Linked DNA regions of Homo sapiens: all the other regions are linked to region 4. The links are contacts of gene promoters, found by promoter capture Hi-C in human tissues and cell types (Jung and others, 2019). All regions are on one chromosome and are shown on one strand. The core of a region is centred on a gene start or on the middle of the fragment in contact, and the rest is flanking DNA. Distances in the headings are between cores, read along the strand shown.

Evidence for each region. Contacts are between HindIII fragments. The study calls those that stand out against the background at their distance.
Region 1: a contact is called between a fragment that was not itself captured here and the fragment with the promoter of COL4A1 in region 4, in 2 of the 25 tissues and cell types used here (lymphoblastoid cells and spleen).
Region 2: a contact is called between a fragment that was not itself captured here and the fragment with the promoter of COL4A1 in region 4, in 1 of the 25 tissues and cell types used here (mesendoderm cells).
Region 3: a fragment that was not itself captured here is called in contact with the fragment with the promoter of COL4A1 in region 4 in 2 of the 25 tissues and cell types used here (aorta and mesendoderm cells).

The regions. Positions count from the first base shown.
Region 1 is chr13:110,149,291-110,152,155 of GRCh38, reverse strand. It overlaps COL4A1 (collagen type IV alpha 1 chain), which reads left to right. Exons shown (of 52, transcript NM_001845.6): 52 at 1,712-2,865. The coding sequence ends at 1,793. Among named protein-coding and RNA genes, the nearest start is that of LINC03082, 22 kb to the right of the region's middle. The HindIII fragment of the contact is 3,547 bases long and covers 1-2,865 here.
Region 2 is chr13:110,547,293-110,551,866 of GRCh38, reverse strand. All of the region lies in intron 1 of RAB20 (RAB20, member RAS oncogene family), which reads left to right. Among named protein-coding and RNA genes, the nearest start is that of RAB20, 12 kb to the left of the region's middle. The HindIII fragment of the contact is 4,571 bases long and covers 1-3,603 here.
Region 3 is chr13:110,167,643-110,172,675 of GRCh38, reverse strand. It overlaps COL4A1 (collagen type IV alpha 1 chain), which reads left to right. Exons shown (of 52, transcript NM_001845.6): 42 at 1,944-2,129; 43 at 2,914-3,047. Among named protein-coding and RNA genes, the nearest start is that of LINC03082, 41 kb to the right of the region's middle. The HindIII fragment of the contact is 7,651 bases long and covers 1-5,033 here.
Region 4 is chr13:110,303,830-110,308,431 of GRCh38, reverse strand. It overlaps COL4A1 (collagen type IV alpha 1 chain), which reads left to right and starts at 1,275. Exons shown (of 52, transcript NM_001845.6): 1 at 1,275-1,488. The coding sequence starts at 1,405. COL4A2 (collagen type IV alpha 2 chain) reads right to left here and starts at 1,148. Exons shown (of 48, transcript NM_001846.4): 1 at 904-1,148; 2 at 485-572; 3 at 309-363. The coding sequence starts at 528. RefSeq lists enhancers at 1-685, 686-1,519. The HindIII fragment of the contact is 6,060 bases long and covers 1-3,790 here.

The DNA of each region.
Region 1 (2,865 bases), core at 366-2,865, 160 kb after region 4:
ACAGGTTTAATTTTTTCATTTACCGAAGAACCATGAAAGAAAAAGGTCATTTTCCATTTTTTCTAGGTGAGTGTACTAAAATGTAATTAAAGCAACTGAAATCTCCAAACAGAGCATGTTTGAAATACAGTATATTTAACAATCCCGGGGAGAAGAAGTGAGCAGCGTTCATTTTCATGCCATTCATAACACTGATCGTAATGTACACTTTGTGTAAGTTCTGAGTGACTTCACAAGGTATTTTTTTAGACCTGTGCAAATAAAAATTAATTTCAGCACAAATTCAGCTGAAACTGAGAGGGAAGACCCTTCCTTCCTTTTCCATTACCAAAATCTCACCTTTAAAATGACTGGCCCAAGTGGCTACTAACCTTGCTGGAGTTGACTGGGAGCCGGGCCGGTCCCCGAAGGCCAGGAACGCATAATGAACCCTCTATCCCGAGCCCCAGCTGCAGCCCCGCTGGAGCCAATGCAGGAGGCTGACGGAGCTGGCACAGCTGCTTACTGTTCATTTCCAAAACAAGCGCTTCTCACCCCTGGAGATGAGCCTTTCCATCTTCACCTTTTTGGAGAGAATTATATGGAACCCTGCTATGATCCTGTCTCTTTCCAGCTTAGATAGTAAGAGGCAGAACAACATACACGCTTCTCTAATTCGTTACTCATCCAAAAAGTGCCGCGTGCCTAACTGGTGGTTTATTGGAGCCTTTCAAGGAACTGGAAACTTGACATCCATGCTGCAGATAGAGTTTAACCATTCACTACCAAAATGAGCGCACTTTGTTCATGCCTCAGCCCTTGCGGTGTCCTCTTATAAGGTTGATAGGTAATGATGGGTTTTTTTTTTTTAACCAGCAGCCTGATACAATAAACTAAAATGTTTTCCCAAAGCAAATTAGGTAAGATCCCATTAATTTAAATAATAAACTTGAGGGTACTAGAATTTGCACCAAAAGTTAATAAAATAAGCAGCCTCAATTTTAGGATGAGGCACTCTCATAAATGGCTATTTTAATTTAGTTTAATTAATTTATTTATTTTAATAGAATTTTCTCAGTAACAATTTTAGTTCAGATTTTACCTTTTCAACAATCAAAATAATGTAGAGTTTCTAAGCTTGAGAAACACTTGGGACATTGAATGTCTTTCCCTCTTTTTGGTCTCAAAGCAGACCATCTGCATAGAAATCCTTCAAAAGTTATAAAAGTATTTCGAGGTCTAGGGAATTACTCCAGATTTATTACTCATCACATCATTCCACAAATATTTAATGAATACTTACTGTGTGTGTAAAGTGTTGCAGAGAAGAATAATATCTTCTTCTTACCCTGGAGGAGTTTATGATCTAGTGGAGGAGAATGGAAAAAAAGTGAAATTGTAGTACGAGGAGGCAGGGTGGCACAGAGGGGAATGGCCAAGGCTTCGGAGCCAGACTGATGTGGCGGGACTTCAGCTGTGCCCTATGGGGCTGTGGGCACTGGGGCAGGTGCCAGGGCCTGGGTGTGCAGCTGGTAACCTGCAGTGTTCTGTGTGCGTGGGACCGTGTGTGCACTGCACCCAGCACCTGCCTGCTCACTGGGTGGTACCAGGTTGAGGCCTGATGCCAGGGGCTGGGCTGATCCCTTAGAGATTTCCGAGCAGGGCAGGAGTGCCATGTTTCTGACGTGCTGTGAGATGATGGCCAATGGTCTGTCTCTGTGTCGTGTTTTAGGAAGCCTACGCCGTCCACCTTGAAGGCAGGGGAGCTGCGCACGCACGTCAGCCGCTGCCAAGTCTGTATGAGAAGAACATAATGAAGCCTGACTCAGCTAATGTCACAACATGGTGCTACTTCTTCTTCTTTTTGTTAACAGCAACGAACCCTAGAAATATATCCTGTGTACCTCACTGTCCAATATGAAAACCGTAAAGTGCCTTATAGGAATTTGCGTAACTAACACACCCTGCTTCATTGACCTCTACTTGCTGAAGGAGAAAAAGACAGCGATAAGCTTTCAATAGTGGCATACCAAATGGCACTTTTGATGAAATAAAATATCAATATTTTCTGCAATCCAATGCACTGATGTGTGAAGTGAGAACTCCATCAGAAAACCAAAGGGTGCTAGGAGGTGTGGGTGCCTTCCATACTGTTTGCCCATTTTCATTCTTGTATTATAATTAATTTTCTACCCCCAGAGATAAATGTTTGTTTATATCACTGTCTAGCTGTTTCAAAATTTAGGTCCCTTGGTCTGTACAAATAATAGCAATGTAAAAATGGTTTTTTGAACCTCCAAATGGAATTACAGACTCAGTAGCCATATCTTCCAACCCCCCAGTATAAATTTCTGTCTTTCTGCTATGTGTGGTACTTTGCAGCTGCTTTTGCAGAAATCACAATTTTCCTGTGGAATAAAGATGGTCCAAAAATAGTCAAAAATTAAATATATATATATATTAGTAATTTATATAGATGTCAGCAATTAGGCAGATCAAGGTTTAGTTTAACTTCCACTGTTAAAATAAAGCTTACATAGTTTTCTTCCTTTGAAAGACTGTGCTGTCCTTTAACATAGGTTTTTAAAGACTAGGATATTGAATGTGAAACATCCGTTTTCATTGTTCACTTCTAAACCAAAAATTATGTGTTGCCAAAACCAAACCCAGGTTCATGAATATGGTGTCTATTATAGTGAAACATGTACTTTGAGCTTATTGTTTTTATTCTGTATTAAATATTTTCAGGGTTTTAAACACTAATCACAAACTGAATGACTTGACTTCAAAAGCAACAACCTTAAAGGCCGTCATTTCATTAGTATTCCTCATTCTGCATCCTGGCTTGAAAAACAGCTCTGTTGAATCACAGTATCAGTATTTTCA
Region 2 (4,574 bases), core at 69-2,568, 240 kb before region 4:
TCAAGATATCGTCCCTGCTTGTTCTCTTCAAGTGCCGAGATTACAGGCATGAGCTACCATGCCTGGCTGAAAATTTATGATGCCAGATCAAATTGCCCTTCTTTCTGTATTGAGACTTCATATAACATCCCTCTCCAAGAAAAATAAATTTTGTACAAACATACACACACGTACAAACACACACGCCTAAACAGCTGTTGATTCTTAGGATAATGGATTCATCACTGCGACGACAGAGTTCCATGGTCCAGCTGGCCGCGAACGCTGGCCCAGGCAGGTTCCAGCTTCGTTTCAACCCTGGCTTCCCTGGTGCTGTCTCTTCTGCACCTCACTGAGGGGTCTTTCTGCCAGGCCTCCTGGATCTGGTCACCTTCCCTGCTCAGAGCCCCTCCAGCACTCCCCAGCTTATCACTCCTCTTATCTGCCTGCTGGCACTTGAGCCCTGATGTACGATTTGCAGTTCGTCCTGTGTGCCCTGTCTTTGCTCGGTTCTCACAGGTGCTTACAGCGTCTCTGGCCATGCCCAGCTTGAATTTTATCCCATCTTTCAGTGAAGCATTTCTTGGTCTTTGTAGCAGAGGGAAGAATTCCTCCTTCCACCAAACTGCTACAAAGTGACCTTGCACCCCATAGTACATACTGCTGGTTGTCTGTTTTTCTGATCTCTTTTTCTTTCCTTGGATTTATAAACTCCTTGGGTTTTACTCACTTGGAGTTTTCCATAGAATGTAATGTTTTGCTCTGTGATATTTTTGAAACTAAGTTTTTGCTGAAGGAAACTTTTGAAAGCAGTGGGGAAAATTCACAGACTGACATTAGCAGTTTCATTTTCTTAGCGATGTATTGACCCTGAATGATAAAATTAGTGTGGAAATATCATTGTCCTGAGTGCTGTGATACAATAGGCCATTGTGTGCGTGGTAGGGAACTGTGGGTCTGGGACATTAATTATATGGTATCCTAAAAAACTTCTTTAGTAGCTCTTGATTTCTTTTGAGTTCAATATCATTGCAAATCTATTAAAAAGACTAACATACCAGGACTGTGTTTCTGGGAAGTTGGAAAAGATGTATTTTCCCCTACTCTTCCCTCTAATTACAGCCCAAAACCTTGGATTTTATCTTAAAAGCAAACATAAGACTCTGGAAGGTGGCAAGGAGAAGGCAGATCCACTAGATACCTCGGGAATGTGTTTCAGGAAAAAACTCTAAACCCGAGTTTTTCCTCTGCTCTCACAGCGCCACAGCCATCATTGACACAGGAAACTCCTGTGAGCAAAGGTGTAGGGTTTTTCCCACACAGCGAGCAGTGGATACCAGCTGGGTGTCCTCCAGTTTAATTCTGCCACTATCTACCCGGAGGTAGCGTCTCATACCACAGGGTGAGGGCTCAGTCTCACAAGACCACCCCTTCCTTCCCCCTAGTTGCAATTCCAGGCATCTGGAATTTCTGATCCACCGGCTTCAGGTGGGGGTTCCCACGACCCCCTCTTTGGGTTCAATTAATTTGCTGGGAAACGGTTGCTTATGTTTGTTTACTAGTTATTAGACAGGATATTGCAAAGGATACAAATGAACAACCGCATGAAGAGACACATGGAGCAAGGTCTGGAAGGGGTGCCACGGAATTGGGGTGCCACAGAGTTGGGGTCCATGGAGTTGGGGTGCCACAGAGTTGGGGTGCCCTTGTGGCATGGGGGTGAGTTCTTCTTCACCTTCCTGTTGGCCTCCATGTGCTCGGCTTTCTGGGAGCTCCCTGAACCCTGTTTTCTGGGCTTCTTATGGAGACTTCATTGGTTGTCTGTGGTTGAGGCATGGGCATCATGTCAAAATGTGATTGGAAAGGCCGGGTGTGGTGGCTCAGGCCTGTCATCCCAGCAGTGTGGGAGGCCGAGGAGGGTAGATCACTTGAGGGCAGAAGTTCAAGACCAGCCCGGCCAACATGGCGAGACTCTGTCTCTACTAAAAATACAAAAATTAGCTGCGCTTGGTGGCGCGTGCCTGTAGTCCCAGCTACTCAGGAAGCTAAGGCAAGAGGGTCGTTCGAACCCAGGAGGCGGCAGAGGTTGCAGTGAGCTGAGATTGTGCCACTGCACTCCAGCCCGGGCAACAGAGCAAGACTCCATCTCAATTAAAAAAAAAAAAAATTTAAAAAAGTGTGATTGGATAAAAAGGGTGCAGTCTAAGCCCAGCAAGGCCTGTCTGTTCAGATTCCCCAGGCCTCTCTGCAGCATTCCTTCCTCTAGGGTATGGGGCAGGACCCTCTCTGGAAGGAGGGTCTAATGACCCACAATCAGATTAGAGTCCGGCCTGGGCCAGGTGAAAGGAGGACAGGAGAAGGTCAGAGAGAAAGATTTTGTTCCTGAGGCCTAAGGCACCCAACATTATAACAATAGATTGTAACAATGGCTGTAAGAATCATGAGCTAGGAACCGTGGATGAAAAGACACAGTGGTGAGTTCCCTGGATTCCAGATTCAGGGCTGAAGAAGCTAGAAATTCGGAAATGCCAAAGGGCACAGGCAAAATGAATCTGCATTCAAGAATTCAGCTTTTGTCTGAAATATTCCTTCCTGCTTAACCCAAGCTGATACAAATCAACACACTTAACTTTTAGTAGCTTATATTCTAACACAGACCAAGCTAAGCTTGTAGCTCCAAGCAAAGCATTTTGTAAATATTTGCTGATTTGTTTTGTGGACTCACAAGATGTTGATGGCAACGGATGTCTTTCCTCCCTCTGGCCTAACCGCTCTCCGCACACTGGTCTTAAGCCTCTGAAATAGCTCAGCTACCTACTGCTAGGGTTCTGCAAGGAAGTCAGGGTAGTGTCCTATGAAAAACTGGCCTGGGAAGTTTGGAATCATCACACACATGTTCAGGCCTCTGGGTTCTGTAGGGACCCAGCCCTTACCTGGCTGGAGCCCTGGGCTGTGAGAGCAGCAGGCATTTATCATGCTTCTGGGTGCCAGACATCACACTCAGTGCCTTCTGGCATTGTCCATTGTTCCGGCATCCACTTTGTGTGCTTGGTGTTATCCTCACCTCTCGGTGCAGATGAGGAAGCTGAGGCCCAGAGAGCCTAGGGAGCTTGCCACAGGTTGCACTCCAGGTTGGGGAGTGCAGATTTGAGGTGGGTTTTTGTCAAAGTCCACCCTTCCTGGCACTGAGCTGGTTAAGAGGCTACGATGGAGCCTGGACCCCTCACATTGGAGCAGTGCCCACCGACAGACCCCGCATAAAAAAGGAACAGAACAGACCTAACCAAGAAATCAGGTGAGCCCACCGCGCTCCCCTGGTGCCTTCATGAGGATGGAGGCAGGTGAGACTGAATTGTGGACATTTCCAGAATGACAAGAGTTTTTTTTTGTTTTTATTTTTGTTTTTGAGACAGTTTCATTCTCTTGCCCAGGCTGGAGTACAGTGGTGTGATCTCGGCTCACTGCAACCTCCACCTCCCAGCTTCAAGCAATTCTCCTGCCTCAGCCTCCCGAGAAGCTGGGACTACAGGTGCACACCACCACACCTGGCTAATTTTTGTATTTTTTGTAGAATTGGGGTTTCACCATGTTGGCCAGGCTGGTCTCGAACTCATGACCTCAAGTGATCTGCCCACCTGGGCCTCCCAAAGTGCTGGAATGACAGGTGTGAGCCACCGTGCCCGGCCGAATTATGGTGTTTTCTAATCCATAAAAGAAAAATTGTTGGATCAAAAAGATGTAGCATTCTAACTGAAGTTGCCTTGAGGATAACAGTGTCTTTTATTTTTGTAGTCTGTTGACCAGGTTTCCTATTTGTATTTTGGAAATTCTCAATTTTATTACTAAGAGCCTTGACGGCATAAGGAGTTGCTCTGGTGGTAGCTTCACAGTTATAGAATACCTGCTATGGGAAACTTTTTGCTCCAGGTTATATCTGAAATGCTTACCTATATTTTAAAGTAAGTGTTTAGATACAAAGAATAAATGGGACGGCCTATTTGCAATACTGTTGTGTAGGCTGATTAGCATTAGCTTGTGGGGTCATGCAGGCTTCCCAAGACTGAGGTTCCAGTCTACAGACTTTGGCCTTATAGCTTTGGCCTTAAATTATAGCCGATGCTTCCACAACACTTAATATGTGCCAGAGGCTCTGCAAAACGCTTCCCCATTTTAGCTCCTTTAATCCTCTCTGGCACCGTAGCAGGTAGCAAGGTTATTTTCCAGGAGTGGTGGAGTGGGGATCTGATCTGGGCAGACCTGTCCGAGGATTTATGCACTTAATCTCACCAGCCTGCTGTGTCCTTCGTAGAAGTGACTTGGATCCTAAAGTGAGAGTGGAACTGGAAAGGAATTGCTCCAAGTATGCATTCACTCACACAAGGTAATAAATGTACATCGGGCTACGTTCTATTTCGTGCATGGGGTGCCTGTGAACTAGAAAAGTCCTGCTGCACCCAACGATAGTAAATGAAAAACAGTTTCAACCTGTGGCCTGTCTCATCACTAACGAGATCAATGTGTTAAGATTCCTGTTAACGCTTTCCCCGTGTAGAATTAAGCGCACTTCATTCACATAGGAAGCTTGTTGCGCCTCG
Region 3 (5,033 bases), core at 644-3,143, 140 kb after region 4:
TGCCTGATTAGCAGAACAAGGGGCAGTGTCTTCAGGATGAAGCCCCATGCCTGTTGGCCAGGCAGCAACGGGATGGAGGATGGGTGCTGAGCCCAGAGGGCAATGCCTGCAAGACACATGTGGTTCCCTTCTAATTAATGGATCAAAATGGCGTGCAGTACACTCATGATCAGAATTATCTTTTACTTGGACTAATTTTGTAAAAATCCAGCAGAGAGGCGAGACCCCTGTCATTTTTATGCCTAGAAGGTCATCAGAATATTGAAATTCTGACTTTCTAGAACTGGTTATACTTATGTGAATGCAGGACAGTATGTAGCACACACCACGAGACAAAAACATGCCCTGCGCAGCCACGATGTGCTCAGTACTAAGTGCAGCTGAGAGTTGGCCAGGAGCTTGGGAAGGCAGTCTCTTCTCTCAGAGAGCTGAGCATTTCATGGGAAAGCAAAGGGGACACAGAAAATACAAGGCATGTGAGCTGCACGACACTGAAGAGAAGCCACAGGTGGCCGCAGCCAGGAGCTCACACACAGCATCCATGGGCATGCTTATGGCCCGTGGCTGGGCTGGCTGAGTGATCCCACTCAGTGGGAGGATTCAGAAAGCCCTGGAAGGCCTTGGACTTCAGCTGAGAAGGAGCAGGGGCACGGAGGTGTTGTTTCTCCCACCCCCTGGTTCTCCCCGAGACCAGCCCAGAGTGTTTCCTTGGCAGGCATGTAGTCTGACACTGGGAACCCCTGGGTTGAGAAGGATGGCCTGGTGCCGGGTGGGCTGCCTTGGGAATGGACACTTCCCTCTCCCTTAACTCACAGAATCCCTCAAACACAGAGCCCCTTGCAAATGCACCTGCTCAAGGGGTCGCTGTGGGCTGTTCCTGCCCTGCCTTTCCTACCTTGCCATGTGATCCCGCACACTCCTTTGGACATGCTGCACTGCCCTTGCACAAACTCTACGCAGCACCTTGCGTTTTCCACTCATTGCTGTGTGAAATAGCAGGGAGAATCCCCAGGAGAAGAGAATCCCAAATGACCACTTTAGGTCTTGACCCTATTTCATTCCCTTTTCCTTTGTTTTGGAAATAACCTTAGAATTTTGGCATTTTTATTGGTAAGATTTGGATACTATGTTTAAAACTAAACATAGAATTTCTTTTTCCTACAAGCTGTTACTTTTTAATTTTTTAAACCTGCTCTATTGAAGTTTCACTGACAGGTCATAAACTACAAATATTTAAAGTGGACAATTTGATAAGGCTGACATAGGTCTACACCATGAAAACATCCCCACATTCTAGATAGCAGGCAAAGCCTTCCCCCAAAAGTCTCCTCCGTGGCTTCATAATCCCCCCCTCCTGCCCTCTCCCCATTCCCCAAGCAACCGTCCATCTGCCTTCTGGTCCTCTAGGTTAGTTTGCATTTTCCAGCAGTTTACAAAAATAAAACCATACACTTCGTAGTCTTTTCAGCCTGACTACTCTCCCACGACATAATTCGTTTGAGATCCAGCCCAGTGGTTGCTCACTTCTTTCTATGGCTGAGTAGTGTCCCACTGCATGGATATAACATGATTGGCTTGTCCAGCCCATTCATGTGCTGATGGAGTGAGGCTTTCGTTTAGCAGTGCAGTTGCTGCAGATGTCTTTAAACACAATTCAGATGCCTTTGCCATAGAACACGTCTCGTGAGAAGTATGAAAACGATAGCTGGGTTCCTAGCATTCTGAGCTCTTTTTCCAGCCAGGCCATGGTCGGATTCTAGTGTGTTATTAAAGAGAAGGAGGGATCGGAGCCCTTGCTGCAGTTTCCTGTGGTGTCCCTGGAAGCTCCCTCTGAGCGGTACCTACAGGATGAGGCACGCCTCATCCCATCTCTGCCGTCCACGCTGGAGATTACTGTTCTGCTGCTGCGTTTCCCATCACCTCAAACTGTTTTTCTTGTTCAGGTTCAAAGGGTGAGGTGGGTTTCCCAGGATTAGCCGGGAGCCCAGGAATTCCTGGATCCAAAGGAGAGCAAGGATTCATGGGTCCTCCGGGGCCCCAGGGACAGCCGGGGTTACCGGGATCCCCAGGCCATGCCACGGAGGGGCCCAAAGGAGACCGCGGACCTCAGGGCCAGCCTGGCCTGCCAGGTAAGGGCATCTCGCCAGGGGCCAGGGCTGAGGACTGGGACAGAATTCACAAAAGGAAATAGCGTAAAAGAAATAGTTAAATTCTCAATTGGGCTTTTTTATTTAGAAGTCTGCAGCATTTATTACAGCTTGAAATTGTGTTTGGCCCCCATCGAGTCAAAGCTTTTCTTGTATCCTTTCTGTCAAGGAATTTAAGTAATTAGGGAGATGCAAGAAAGGAAATGATTGGACAAGCCTGGACTCGTGCCCCGTCGGTGGCGTTGGACTTAAACCAGCGCAGCACTTGGGCCCACTTGTGGGTTCTGGTGAAGACCCCCGTAGTGGTAGCACAGATGCCCGGGCACCACTGACCGCAGGCCATTTTGGACACGGAGACAGTGGCATTTCTATGTCTGTCCTTCCTTCCTTCCTTCCTTCCTTCCTTCCTTCCTTCTTTCCTCCCTTCCTCTCTCCCTCCCTCCTTCCCCTCCCCTCCCCTCCTCCCTCCCCTCCTTCCTCCCTCCTTCCCTCCCTTCCTTCCTTCCCAGACCTTCCTCAATTTCTGTCTCAAGGGTTCACATTGTCGGTCCAGTGTTTTATCAGAGATAGTAGTGTTTCTATTCCCTCCCTCCCTCCCTCCTTCCTTCCTTCCTGGACCTGCCTCGATTTCTGTCTCAAGGGTTGTCACTGTTGGTCCAGTGTTGTATCAGTGAGGGGCCGTGGGTGGCAGTATTGATAGCCCCACAGCCCAGGGACACTTGTGCATATTTAACCCCAAATGTGTGGCTTTCTTCTCTTCCATTAGGACTTCCGGGACCCATGGGGCCTCCAGGGCTTCCTGGGATTGATGGAGTTAAAGGTGACAAAGGAAATCCAGGCTGGCCAGGAGCACCCGGTGTCCCAGGGCCCAAGGGAGACCCTGGATTCCAGGGCATGCCTGTGAGTTATTGATTTGTAGATTTTTATTTTTAAAGGAGTCTTTTCTGGCCAGAAGTATTCATATGTGTCTATGTGTGTATGTATTTTGTGTATGTATATATATGTGTGTGTGTGTGTGTGTGTGTGTGTGTTACACTCCCACATCCCCACTAAATCAGTTCTTTCTTTCTTTCTTGCCAGTAACCCACATCTTTATTGGCATCAGAGTAGGAAACTATTGTAACATTTTTTTACAATCCAGTTTTCCAAGAACCATAAAAGGGAAATGTTATACTGCTGGAAATTATGGCTCAATGCCTAAATTTAAGACCTATTTACAAACTCAATGTAAAAAGCAAGCCAATGTTGTTTTGCAGAGAACAATTCTGTAAAACTAGCCCAGCCATCTCTTAGGACTGGCAGGAGGACAGGGAATTGCAGTTGAACAGTTCAAGTCATAAAAGATAACCAGCAATATTCCATCTTTCTTTACTGACCTGATCCAGATACAGAGTCTAAGTGGTGACTTAGACAAGCCTTCAGAAGAGCACATCTCAGGGTGCAATAAGTGACCAGCAGCCTTGTGTATTTCTGTGTGTGTGTGTGTGACTTTGGCTCTTTGCTGCACCTGAATATATAGCCCTTCTTAGTGGTGGTCATGGATCTTTGGTTTGATTTTTAGCTTAACCATGTCCATGGCTAAAGGATTGTGTTTACGTGGCTCGCTCATTCAAATAGCTGGATTAGCAGAGCTTTATTCTCTGTGTCTGTCTCTCTGTTTCCTCTATCTGTCTCCATCTGTCTGTCTCTCTGTCTCTCTCTAACACACGTTAGGAGAAAGAGAGAGTATATCAGGGGAGATCATGAATAGGAGGGATTTGAGACAGACCTCTGCAGTTATGTTGGAGCAAGCGGGGTTCTTCTGTAAGTCAACACATGTTCTCCCTTAAAGGGAAAGCTTTGAACTGCTCATCAGCAGCAGAGACATATCTTAGAGTCATCAGACTACTTTCTCAAGGATGGATACAGAATAGCTAAGCTTGCTGGGTGCAAAACAATACGTGGTGCTGATTTACTTCTGAATCAGTAAGTTATGAAATGCTTATAAATAATTATGCAGAACTGGCTATAAGGAGTAGCAACAGTCATGTTTACCCATTCCTTGTCCTCAAAGCTGTGTATATCTCCACAGTATAGCAAATGTGTATGTGAATGTATTTTTGGGCCCCTATTGCTATATTGCAGTTTTCCAGTAATGTAAGCCTAGGTAATTTGTCAAATATTTATGTATTCTCATTTTTATTCCTCAGTAACATAGAAATATACCCCATTCCCGGCTGGGCCTGGTAGCTCACGCCTGTAATCCTAGCACTTTGGGAGGCCGAGGTGGGCAGATCACCTGAGGTGGGGAGTTCGAGACCAGCCTGGCCAACATGGCAAAACCCTGTCTCTACTAAAAATGCACAAGTTAGCATGGTGGCTCATGCCTGTAATCCCAGCCACTTGGAAGGCTGAAGCAGGAGAATTGCTTGAACCTAGGAGGCAGAGATTGAAGTGAGCCGAGATGGTGCCACTGCACTCCAGCCTGGATGACAGAGCGAGACTCTGTCTCAAAAAAAAAAGAGGAAGAAAAAGAAATACACCCCATTCCTGGTGCCAGTCAGTGTCTGTCTGTCTCTGTATACATACTTATGTATAAATATGTGTTTGTATATATGTTTATATACATATATATTTGTTCATGTTATTTTGGTTTGACACTTTTAAAATAAGGCTAAGAAACAAATCTACGTAAGAAATAAAACAACTTGTTACATGTTGCTGTCCACGACTTGAGAAAGGAACGACTTGTTGAAATGGAAAGAAAATGAGCCCCTATTTTAAAATACACGAATATTGCCACAGTATAAAGGAAAATACTCGTTCCTTAGCATTTCTTAATTTTCTTTGCATATTTAAAATCAGTTTTCAGATAAGACATGAAACTAATTCTAAAGAAAACTGATT
Region 4 (4,602 bases), core at 26-2,525:
CTCTACGGCTGCAGCTTTGCCCAAAGCAACGAAAACGGTGCCTCAGGCTACATTTTAAGTTCCCAGTTCCCGTGAAAGGCCGACGCTTGCAAAACACAGGATTGACGCTGGGAACCCAAGGGGAAGGAAAGGTGGAAAGCATGATGAGGGAAGAGCAAGCTTTCTCAGAACCTTGGTGGGCAGCCTGGCGAACATCCACACGCACACACACACTCGGGAGCGCACGGACGAGCTGCCTTCTCCAAGGCCACTCAAACGTCCCAACCACTCTCGGGCGCGCAAGTCCAAGCGCGGGAGCCAGGACTTACCGCCAAGACGCTCTGGGCGAGGAACCCCACGGTCACTGTCCCCAGCAGCAGCCACCTGCATGGGAAAGGGAGGAAGAGAGACGTGAACGTGCGGGCCCGGCTTGTCAGTCCCCGAGAGTTACACCGAAGGGTCCATGCGCGCGTGACCCACGGGGACCAGGCAGAAAGTCGCTTACCGCCGTAGGGCAGGGCCGGCCACCGCGCGCTGGTCTCTCCCCATGCTGGCGGTTCGTCCACTCTGGGCCCCGGTCAGTCCCACTTAGCCTAGAGGCGACAGACAAAGCGAGTTTAGCGCAGGATGAGGGAGGCAGCCCATCCTCACCGCCGGTCTCGGTCCGCGAGACGCGGGGACAGCGCGGTGCGCGGCCCGCATGCAGGGGTGACCGGAGGGCCGTCCCCCCCACGACCCGGAAAGAAGGAGAGCCTCCCGTTAGGCCCCTGTGGGTGCTCCTTGGCCGAGGAGCTCGGTCTTCGCTCTCCCACCCTCCCCCTTTCTACTCCCAAGCAGGAGAGCGTGCAGCCCTAGCCTGCACAAGGCGCTCCAAGTCGGTGCTCTCGGGCCAGGGTCTGGGCGCCGCTCGGGGGTCGCTCTCACCTCGGGCTCGGCTTCAGGGGCTGCTGCCCGAACGCATTGGCCCTTCCAGAAGCACCCGCCGGCGGCACACCGGCAGGGCGGCCGGCCTTGCTGGGCTCTCTGGGCGCCGGCCCCGGGGGCTCGGGCGGCCCCTTTCGGTCCTCGGCCTGGATCCGCGAACGCGCGGGCGCGAGGGGTTGGGACGCGGGAGCCTCTTGAGTGCGGAGCGCGGAGCCCTGGTGTCCCGGCGCACTGCAGCCACACTCCCGGGCCGCGCGCTCCCGCCGCCTCTTACCCGCGCCGCAGGGTCCTCCCCTTTGAGGCGCCGCCCGCGCACCGCCGGGGGGGAGGGGGCAGCGCCAACAAATTGGGGAGCTCGGCCCGCCGCGCTCAGGTCTCCGCTTGGAGCCGCCGCACCCGGGACGGTGCGTAGCGCTGGAAGTCCGGCCTTCCGAGAGCTAGCTGTCCGCCGCGGCCCCCGCACGCCGGGCAGCCGTCCCTCGCCGCCTCGGGCGCGCCACCATGGGGCCCCGGCTCAGCGTCTGGCTGCTGCTGCTGCCCGCCGCCCTTCTGCTCCACGAGGAGCACAGCCGGGCCGCTGCGAAGGTGAGTTCCCGGCCAGCTCCGCTCCCGGCGTCCCGCCCCGAGCTTGGGCGCCCCGAGAGGCCCCTTTGTCCGCGCCTGGACCCGTCCGCCTGCCCCTCGGGGGTCGCGCGTGGCACGGCCAGGTGCATTCTCTGGGCCGGGGTTCGTTGGGGGTCCCTGTAGGCTACGATCGCGCATTGGTGGACCGAGCCTCCTTTGTTATGGTATGGGTACTGGAGAGTTAAGGAATTCCTCCGGGGAAGGGAGGAGAAACAGCCCGCGCTGTGGCGGGGTGAGGGTGCCTGGGAGCCGGCGGGATTTGAACCCGCGTCGCGGGTATGCTCGGCAGCTGGGCGCCTTCACCCGTCCCGGGTGCGCGAGGGAGTTGGGGGCTGGAGGGCCGGGAGCGCCCACCCCGCGCTGCTCAGAGACCCACACTGGGAGCTCCGAGCTCCTAGCCCCTGGGAGCAGCTTTGGGCGTATTTCTCCTTGTCTGGAGACCCTGGTGGCTGAGGCTGAAAAGCTCTGGGCCCTTTGCCTGGAAACAGCTGTATCTGAGCTTTCCCACGACTGCTGCCTAAGGCGCGCTCCAAGGCAGAAGTGGGGCTCTTCTGGACGCCCGGCTTGAAGAAGCCACCATCCTCAACTCGTTGCCTTCTATTAATATATATTTTAAAAAATTATAACCACATTCATATTTGAGCATGAAACCAAAGTGAAACTCCATGTCATTGTTCCATGCACAAATTGTTTTTCTAGTTTTCATTTCCTTTGGTTATGTGCTTGCCCAGAAAGGATCTGGGAGATCGGTTTGCAGGAGGTTTGCAGGAGTCGAGGCTTCCAGCCGTGGACAAGCCTGGACTGACTGTTGTTTCCTTTTTTCCTTCCCCTCCGAGAGAATAAAGACTTCAGCTGTTGCTCAGTGTCACAGCCATGCAGTCCCACAGGCCGGAAGGTGTGGCTTCTGAACAGATTTTGCAGTTTCTCCCTCAAATGCTTAAAAATGATTTTTGCTACTTACCAGATTTTCCATACTTATTCTTTTACTGTTCTTAATCTTGTTCTTTGTTTTCCTCTTTAAAAAAAAATTTTACTTCTCTCCTGGAAGAATGATACTCACTAAATCCACTTAACTGTATAGAAATTGTTAACTGTTACATGCCAGAGAGAACTGGTGATATACACACACGTCTCCTAATTGAGAGCTTATCTCCCTGGAGGCAGCTTCTCCACTGGGTATTGAAAGGACTAATGATTACATCAGCAATTAACTTCAGATTGTACCTCCCAGCCCAGTCTCCCCAAACTTCATAGCCAGTTATTTAAACACTCTTTGGTAATGATGACAAAATACTTTCCAAAGAACAGGCTTGAGAGCACTTTATTTTGGTCTAGAAATATTGACCAAAAGATTGAACGCTTCCAAGGTGAGATGGTGAAGCCTGATGATGGTAAGGTAAATCAGAGAAAGTTCTTCATTGGGAAATAGGAGCTGTTTGCATTTCGATTTTCTGATGGATAATGTTAGCAAAGCAAAGAAAGCTAACTGTAAGAGCTGGCTTTCCAAACATCCAGGACTGTAGAAAGAAAGAACCACTCAGTTACGCAAATCCTGTTCTCACCCGGGAAATCAAACGCATTAATGTTGAGTTGGAGATGATTTTACTTCCCTTTAATCATTTCCTAAAGCTCAATTACATTCCCGGCCACTGTCTTTGCAGTGTCCCTTGAGGTGCCATGGACTGTTTTTAAGAGATGCAGCCTGTGGGCACTTCTGATCACAGCTGACCTCACAGATATTATCATTACTCTGTATTTTCCCTGGCTTAATTAGAGAAAAGTGCTTAATGTGCAGATGATGTATGGGTATACAAGAAAATCACTTAAAAACTGAATCTGCCTAATTTTAAAATTTGTCTCACTTTTCATGCCATCAATAACATTTTGGCTTACCTCCTTCCAAAATCAGCTGTTAGATGTACCATAACACTGAAATAGCTTCAATACTGATCCAAGCAAAACATAATTTAAAAGCACATTTTGAATGATAAGATGCTGTGGATTTGATCAGATCCTCATTCAGAAGCCAGTGGAAGTGACTGTTGGCTTACCTCTCCTTTGCACTGTCTGAATCACACTTCACCTGCATTTGTACATCCAGACATCACCTGCTGTGTGCCAGGCATGAATTGCCCTTATTGTTTTTTCTTCATGAAAGGCTGTTTAATTTTGTATTTGCTGTATCTGCTATGGTCATATTGTTTACGTACTCATGGGTGGATTTTCTAAACCATTGATTTTATCCCACGCTGAACCTACCACTCTACTCCCCGCTCCTCCCTTCCTCCACTTTTCTTCAGCAAGAAAGGAGGAATAGCTTGCAGGCTCCAGACAAACACGTGCCAGCAGTGTTCTGATTGTGAGCACCCTCTACTCTTAGTCACTCAGTTGCACTGGGCGGAATGAACCCTTCCTGCAGCAGCTTTCACACTCCCCTCTAGCTGGTTCTGTGTGATGCTTCTTAACAGATTATTTCTCAGGATTAGAAACGTGAACTTTCCCCTCAGTGTGGTGATGCTTGTCCAGCAATACTGTCATCTCCTGACCATTAGTCACCACCTCTGGGACTGAATGACCTAGAGTTCAAACTAAGTGAGATTTCATTCCCATATAAGTATGGACCATGTTCTACTGGAAATGTAGTTTAGAAGAGAAGGCTGGTTTCTGAATCAGTCCCAACAAGAGCAGCATCGCCCAGGATCTCAGGAGTGATATTGGTGAAGCTATTCCTTATATCTGCAAGCTCTTTATATTAATAGATGGAATTGGACTAGGGTGAAGGGACATAACTTTAAGACCAACCAGAAGACACAATGTTCATGTACTCTGACTAGATTCACAGAATTATCAATGCTATATATTATTAATAGTCACGTGTACACAGGATGAGTGTGCTTTAGGCACCAGAGGACCTTACATTTTATACCTGCTTTTAAGCAGATGATTTGGGGGTACTCATCAAACTCTATACCTCAGTTTCCCTGGCAGGTCTGTCCCTTCCTCACACGGACCCGTTTGTGCCTTCCTTCATTCCACACACACATCGGGAACACCTCCTTCCTGCCATGACCTTGC